Regions from separate parts of the Homo sapiens genome. Here region 1 is linked to region 2. The links are contacts of gene promoters, found by promoter capture Hi-C in human tissues and cell types (Jung and others, 2019). All regions are on one chromosome and are shown on one strand. Each heading gives the region's core, a stretch centred on a gene start or on the middle of the fragment in contact. The rest is flanking DNA. Distances are from core to core; before and after follow the strand shown. Region 1 has its middle 29 kb from the start of PPCDC. Region 2 holds the start of SNUPN (snurportin 1).

The links. The method cuts DNA at HindIII sites, captures the fragments that hold promoters and counts their contacts. A contact is called where the count stands out against the background at its distance.
Region 1: a fragment that was not itself captured here is called in contact with the fragment with the promoter of SNUPN in region 2 in 1 of the 25 tissues and cell types used here (psoas muscle).

Annotation. Positions count from the first base shown.
Region 1 is chr15:75,051,200-75,054,956 of GRCh38, forward strand. No RefSeq gene overlaps it. Among named protein-coding and RNA genes, the nearest start is that of PPCDC, 29 kb to the left of the region's middle. RefSeq lists enhancers at 299-800, 801-1,300. The HindIII fragment of the contact is 8,061 bases long and covers 1-3,757 here.
Region 2 is chr15:75,623,421-75,627,704 of GRCh38, forward strand. SNUPN (snurportin 1) reads right to left here and starts at 2,305. Exons shown (of 9, transcript NM_005701.4): 1 at 2,246-2,305. RefSeq lists a silencer at 1,784-1,833 and an enhancer at 2,484-2,673. The HindIII fragment of the contact is 13,243 bases long and covers 1-4,284 here.

The DNA.
Region 1 (3,757 bases), core at 584-3,083, 570 kb before region 2:
TGATAGCATTTTCTGAGTGTTCATCGTGGGCGAGGATCTATGCCAGGGATTTTAGGGAAGGCAGTCACCCAGGGAGATCAACCACAAAGTGCCTGTGTGAAAAGGCCATGGGAGCAGGGAAGTTCACAGGCCACTGTCCCAGAGCTCTGAAAACAGCTGTGGCTGCTCAGCAGGACTGCGCCTTGTTGGCTAGAAGGGAACATATATCCCTGTGGACTCAGGCCAGCTGGAGGCCCCTGTCCCTGGGGGTTCGTCTCTCCATCTCCTACCCACAGCAGTCCTGCATCCCTGCCGCCCATTTTGAAGCGGGGGGTCTGGATGAATGGGTCTGGGCTGGGCCTAAAGAGCCCAGCTGTTCCCTGCACCAGACTGGAGCTAAGAGGAGCAGGTGCTGCATTTAGCTGGCCCCATCTGCCAAGGAGGTGCTGAGTGGGGAGTGACAATCACTGCTTTCCCCACGAGGGGTCCAAGCACTTGAAGTTACCTTCATCTTGGGGAGAAATGTTTCTCAGAGAAGATTCTAGCCTCCCTGATGATTTTTTATAGAATTCTGGAAGTTTCAGAGAATAGAACATTTGGGTCTGAAATGTGCACTCTTTTGTGGCAGCCATGAGCCCTTCAAGGCTGCTGTGGATGCTGCTGGGTGGGAGGCAGAAGCCACCAAACCAAGGCCCAGCTTCCACCCTGGGCCGCCTCCAGCCCTTCCTGCACCCCGCTGGTCAGGTGCCGCTGCTGCCTCCCCACTGCCTCAGGTCAGGCCCAGACTCCTGGGCAGTACACACCTGGCCCTTTGTGATCTGGCTCCTGCCTACCCTTCTAGCACTGCCCTTTACCACATGCCAACCCTGAAGGGCTCCGTATTCTCTTGCCAGACTGGACAACCTTGAACTTGTGAGGCCTCTTGCCTGTGCACATGCTGCTGCTTTTACTGGGATAAGACTGACTCCCACACATGCCTGTGGATGTACCTGGGTGCTACCTCCTTTGGAAAGCCTTCCCTGGCCAACTGCAACCTCCTTGCCCAGGTTGCCATGGTGCTTCCCACTATTATTTTTTATTTTTATTTTTATTTTTTGAGATGGAGTCTCATTCTTTCGCCCAGACTGGAGTGCAGTGGTGCGGTCTCAGCTCACTGTAAACTCTGCCTCCCAGGTTCAAGCAATTCTCCTGCTTCAGCCTCCTGAGAGGCTGGGATTACAGGTGTGCACCACCATGCCCAGCTTTTTTTTTCTTTTTCTTTTTTAAAATTTTTAGACGGTGTCTTGCTCTGTCGCCCAGGCTGGAGTGCAGTGGCATGATCTTGGCTCACTGCAAGCTCCGCCTCCCTGGTTCACGCCATTCTCCTGCCTCAGCCTCCTGAGTAGCTGGGACTACAGGCGCCCGCCACCACGCCCGGCTAATTTTTTTTTTGTATTTTTAATAGAGACGGAGTTTCACTGTGTTAGCCAGGATGGTCTCAATCTCCTGACCTCGTGATTCACCTGCCTCAGCCTCCCAAAGTGCTGGGATTACAGGCGTGAGCCATCGCACCTGGCCTGATTTTTTTTTTTTTTTTTTTTGTATTTTTAATAGAGACGGGGTTTCACCATGTTGGCCAGGCTGGTCTCGAACTCCTGACCTCATGATCTTCCTGCCTCGGCCTCCCAAAGTGCTGGAATTACAGGAGTGAGCCACCGTGCCCGGCCACCACTATTTATTACAACAGAATTGTAATTGTTAGTTTACTTTGTGTCCTCCTAACATTGGGTTCTCTTGGAGAGCAGGAGTTGTCCTGTTCCTTACAGAACCCAGTAAGTCACTCCAAGCTTGTACTGATCAAAAAAGTGGTGTGTGTGTTGGGGCTATTGGTTCCTGCTCCTTTCTGTGCAAGAGACAAAATTTAGCAACCACAAAAGCAAAGATTGATAAATTTGACTATAGAAAAATAGGTTCACTGAGCAACAACCCAAAGTCAAGGTCAAAGGACAACATGCTGGGGAAATTATCTGCAGCTCATAAACAAAGGGCTGATTCTCCTAATATATGAAGAACTCCTATGCATTGATGATAAAAAGACCAAGGGCCGGGCACAATAGCTCACACCTGTAATCCTAGCCCTTTGGGAGGCCGAGGTGGGTAGATTGCCTGAGCTCAAGGAGTTGAGACCCACCTGGCCTACCTGGTGAAACCCTGTCTCTACTAAAATACAAAAAATTAGCCAGACATGGTGGTGCATGCCTGTAGTCCCAGCTACTTGGGTGGCTCAGGCAGGAGAATTGCTTGAACCTGCGAGGCGGGGGTTGCAGTAAGCTGAGATCATGCCACTGAACTCCAGCCTGGGTGACTGAGCAAGATTCCATCTCAATAAAAAAAAAAAAAAAAAAAAAGAAAGAAAAAGAAAAAGGAAAAAAAGACCAAGAACATGTATTAAAAAGTGAGCAGAAGATACGAAGAATTCACATTAAAAACAAAAAAAAAAACAAAACCAAAAACCCAGTCACACAAAGGGCCCTTAAACAGCTACTCAGCCACATTCATGAGGAGAGTGGTGCAAATCAAGCTAGACCTAAAACTTTTGCCTGTTAGACTGGTGGGGGTGTGGGGAATTGGTGCCCTCATGCATTGCTGGTAGGAGCGTAAATTGATGGCAACTTCACTGGAGAACAATCTCGGAGTATCTATCAAAACTACGTATGCACCTTACCCTTTGACCCAGCAATTCTACTTCTAGGGATTTGTCCCACAGATACACTCACTTCTATGACATTATGTCTAAACAGATTTATTGCAGGCTTGTATATGGTACTGAAAGACCAGGCCAGGCACAGTGGCTCACGCCTGTAATCCCAGCATTTTGGGAGGCCAAGGCGGGCAGATTGGCTGAGCTCAGGAGTTTGAGACCAGCCTGGCAACATGGCGAAACCCCGTCTCTACTAAAAATACAAAGTCAGGTGTGATGGTGCATGCCTGTAATCCCAGCTACTCAGGAGGCTGAGGCAGGAGAATCGCTTCAACCTGGGAGGTGGAGGTTGCAGTGAGCCAAGATTGCACCACTGCACTTCAACCTAGGTGACAGAGAAAGACTCTGTCTCAAAAAAAAAAAAAAAAAATTACATATGCACCTTACCCTTTGACCTAGCAATTCTGCTTCTAGGGATTTGTCCCACAGATACACTCAGTTGTATGACATTATGTCTGAACAGGAGATTTATTGCAGCCTCGCATATGGTGCTAAAAGACTGGAAACACCCTCACTATCTAACAGCCAGGAGATTGGATAAATAAATTAGTGTGTTCCTTCATACACTGGAACTCTACACAACCATAAAACAAAGTGTTGAGGAAGCTGATTTGGGAAGACTTCTGAGGTACATTGTTAAACAGAAAAAGCAAGGTGCAGAAGAATGTCACATGCATGCTTGTGCAGAAAAAATGGGGGTGGGGAAAGAAAAGGAGGATATATTCTTATTGGCTTGTGTGTGCATCAAATGCCTTTAAAAAGATAAACAGAGAAAAACATTGTCTATTGTTTTTCTCTTGGCAGGGGAACTAACTGAGTGGTTGAGAAACAAAGATAGGAGGCAGGCCAGGACTCCGTCTCAAAAAAAAAAAAAAAAAAGATAGGAGGTGACTTCATTTTTAATTGTTGGGCCAGATGAATATACTATCTACCACAAAATCAATAAATACATTTTAAAAAGAGTTCCTTGTGGTCAGGCACAGTGGCTCACACCTGTAATCCCAACACTTTGGGAGGCCAAGGCAGAGGGATTAGTTT
Region 2 (4,284 bases), core at 1,055-3,554:
TTACAGGTGTGAGCCACCACGCCCGGCCTTTTTTTTTTTTTTGAGACAGGGTCTCACTTTGTCTCCCAGGCTGGACTACAGTGGTGTGATCTCGGCTCACTGCAGCCTCCACCTCCTGGGTTCAAGTAACTCTCCTGCCTCAGCCTCCTGAGTAGCTGGGATTATAGACATGCACCACCATGCTCGGCTAATTTTTGTATTTTTAGTAGAGAAGAGGTTTCATTATGTTGGCGTGGCTGGTCTGAAACTCCTGACCTGAAGTGATCTGCCTGCCTCAGCCTCCCAAAGTGCTGGAATTACAAGCATGAGCCACTGCACCCGGCTTGAGGTGTGCCTTAATATCTTTGCAATGCAACCAAGGGTTGCCATTCCTGAGTGACTGAGGCCTCATGATGAGTGCTTGGGATCCATATGGTATGTTATTCAAATCATCCATAATGGTATGTATGCTATTGTCTCTACTTTTCTGTACTTTTGTGTAAGTTTGAAAGCTTTCATGATAAAATTTTTTTTTTTTTTTTTTTTGAGACGGAGTCTCGCTCTGTCGCCCAGGCTGGAGTGCAGTGGCGGGATCTCGGCTCACTGCAAGCTCCGCCTCCCGGGTTCACGCCATTCTCCTGCCTCAGCCTCCCAAGTAGCTGGGACTACAGGCGCCCGCCACTACGCCCGGCTAATTTTTTGTATTTTCAGTAGAGACGGGGTTTCACCGTTTTAGCCGGGATGGTCTCGATCTCCTGACCTCGTGATCCGCCCGCCTCGGCCTCCCAAAGTGCTGGGATTACAGGCGTGAGCCACCGCGCCCGGCCGATAAAAATTTTTAAAAAGTCATTATGTTTTCAGTTCATCACCAAAGTAATGACCAAATCCAAAGCACCTTTATTAGGCCTATCATGCACTATCTTGGTGTGGGCTCCCGCTCTGCCAAGAACCACACAACCTTTGAAACTGATGTCCTGGGCCTGGCGCGGTGGCTCACGCCTGTAATCCCAGCACTTTGGGAGGTTGAAGCGGGCAGATCACCTGAGGTTAGGAGATCGAGACCATCCTGGCTAACACAGTGAAACCCCGTCTCTACTAAAAAAAAAAAAAAAAATACAAAAAAATTAGCCAGGCATGGTGACGGGCGCCTGTAGTCCCAGATGCTCGGGAGGCTGAGGCAGGAGAATGGCTTGAACCCGTAAGGCGGAGCTTGCAGTGAGTCGAGATCGTGCCACTGCACTCCAGCCTGGACTTCGTCTCAAAAAGAAAAAAAAAAGAAAAACTGATGTCCTGGATACTGGGGCGGTTCCTTTACCTTCCTTCAAGGCTGTTCTTGGCGGGTTCCTGCTGTTTCGTTTTGTTTTTTCTTTGTTGTTGTTGTTTTTTTTTTGAGACAGAGTTTCGCTCTTGTTGCCCAGGCTGGAGTGCAGTGGCATGATCTCGGCTCACTGCAACCTCCATCTCCCGGATTCAAGCGATTCTCCTGCCTCAGCCTCCCGAGTAGCTGGGATTACAGGCACGCGCCACAACGCCCGGCTAATTTTTTTTGTATTTTTAGTACAGATGGGGTTTCACCATGTTGGTCAGGCTGGTCTCAAACTCCTGACCTCAGGTGATCCGCCCACCTCGGCCTCCCAAAGTGCTGGGATTACAGGCGTGAGCCACTGCGCCCCGCCGGGCTCCTGCTGTTTCAACCCATTCCTTGGATGGTGCTGCCTCCAAGTGTTCGGACCTTAGCCCCAGGTGGTCTTAGCACCAGTAACCCCCGCTCCAACTCCCTAAAGTCCGACCCGCCCCAGGCCCCGCCCACGCTCCACCCTCCCTCCCTGTCTAGCCCCCTCCCCCATCCCCTTCCCCCTCCTTCGCGTCTCCCCATCCGGCGCCCCCGCCTCGCGTCCCCTGGGTCCGCATCCTGGCAGCCTCCGCGTTTCCCTACCCCTGCTACCGGGCTCCAGCCCCGGGGACGCTATCTGCTTCACTCGGCCGTGCGCGCCGCCACCGCCCCGCACTGCCTTTTTCTAGGCATGGGGTCATCTAGGCCATGCATGATTCGCCCCTGCCCCACAGAAGTCCCTGAGGGGTCCTGGCCGGACAGCACGGAATAGAAGAACGGAAACTCTCCCAAAAGGAGTCCCAGGCCTGGCTCTATCCCTCCAGATGACGTCCCAGGAGGCCAGAGTGCAGGGCCGGCCAGAGGGAGTCACAGTCCGGCACCGAGAGGCAACTCGGCAGCTGGCGGGGCCCGGGCTCGAACCCAGGGACTCACCCAAACCGAGGTGACCGTCGCACGCGCCGCCGCCACCGGGGCCGACGAATCACCTGCCCTGGGAAGCTAGGTCCGCCCTCCCCCCGCCCCCAGCTGCTGCCTCACCGCTGGGCCCACAGGCCTCGCGCCCTGAGTTTCCGGCTCCTCCCTCCTTTGCGAACGCTGGGAGTTCCGTTGCCTACAGGCCGTTATTTCCGCCTTCAACGGCTGGGGCATTTCCCATCGGCTAGGGAGGGGGTCTTCTTGCATTTGCTTTGCACTGTCCGGGACTCTTCCTGCTAGATGACTTGACCAGGCCGAGGCCTCCCTCCTGAACACAAGCTCTTCGGGGCTCCTTTCGCCAATGGGAGGAGGCTGATCTTGTGGCCGGGCATTCAACGCCCTGGGCCCTGCCGCCTCCCGCAGATCTTCCCGGGCCTTAGGGCTTCACCTGGAGTCCCCTTCCCCTCTTGGGCCCGTGCTCTTAAACGGGCAGTGCCAATTGCCTGGATTACTCCAACTAACCCCTCACACCCAAGTTTCAGACACAGACCTTCGCTCCCCCACTTGCCCTTAACAAAAGCAGATACATACCTCGATTACTGCCTGTTTGCTGCTTTTGCGAGCTTCTTTCCCACTCGGCTGCGGGCTGAGCAATGGTAGGGACCTGGCTTGATTCCTATTTAAGTAGCCAGAGTCCAGCACAAGGGATGGCGCTCAGTAGACCCTGCGTGAAGGAATGATTAAATTGGTGCAAAAGACTAGGGTAAGCGGCAGAGATTTAGGAGATTAAGTCCTGCCAGGGTGTAGCCTCTGCAGGGCGGGAAGGCTGAGATTACAATTTTAAAACTGAATATTTATTGAATGCTTACATTCAGCCAATCCCTGCTTCACACCCATCATCTCATTTAATTTTTTTCCTTTTTTTTCTTTTTTAAGCCAGTAGATATTAACTCTTAATCATGACATGAGGAAGTAGACACACTGAAGCTCAGAGAGGTTAAGTAATTTGGCCAAAGTAACACAGCTTTCAAGGAAAATGTTTGAATTTGCTGAAAGTTTGATGTATAGGGAAGTTGACTACCGATGTATGACAGAAGCAAAGTATCCACCTTTGGCACATTTTGCGTCCACGGAATGCTAAAATTTGGACTTGTGTATTTTATGCACATTACACCATACATTCAGACTAAAAAGAATAGGAAATTAGGCTGATGAAAGGCTATTACTAGACTGGTAAAAAGGGTTCTGGGGCCCTGGAAGGCCAATTTTTCTGGACGTGAGATTTTTTTTTATTTTTTTGAGATGGAGTCTCGCTCTGTCGCCCAGGCTCTGGAGTGCAGTGGCGCAATCTCCGCTCACTGCAAGCTCCGCCTCCCGGGTTCACGCCATTCTCCTGCCTCAGCCTACTGAGTAGCTGGGACTACAGGCGCCTGCCACCATGCCCGGCTAATTTTTTTGTATTTTTAGTAGAGACGGGGTTTCACTGTGTTAGCCAGGATGGTCTCGATCTCCTGACCTCATGATCTGCCCGCCTCGGCCTCCCAAAGTGCTGGGATTAAAGGCGTGAGCCACCGCACCCGGCCTGGACCTGAGATTTTATTTAGGTGGCTCTTTCAGTGGCCAGGCTGAGCAAAGCTGTCCACTAGGGTATTTATTTGGTGCATCCACAAATAAAAGCTCATGTCTGCCTGATTTATGAGACTGACAAAAAAGAGAAGTCCAGGGCCTGACTTCACTAGGGAATTTTGACACCCAGGATATTAGGTATTTTGTGTCCAAACAACCATCCCTTACAACCACGGAGGTCACATCTAATGGTCGGGCTGCATAGAAAAGAATAAAGACCTTAAACATTTTAGGAAAATAGACTGAGACTGAGAAAGAAGTTCCCAAATTCATGCCTGGAGGTCCAGGAGAAATGTTCTAGTTCCTCACTCACACCTAGCTGAATAACTTCCCATATCACTGAAAAAACAAAACAAAACCAGGTCAGGCACTGTGGCTCATGCCTGTAATCCCACCACTTTGAGAGGCCAAGGTGGAAGTAGCCCATGAGT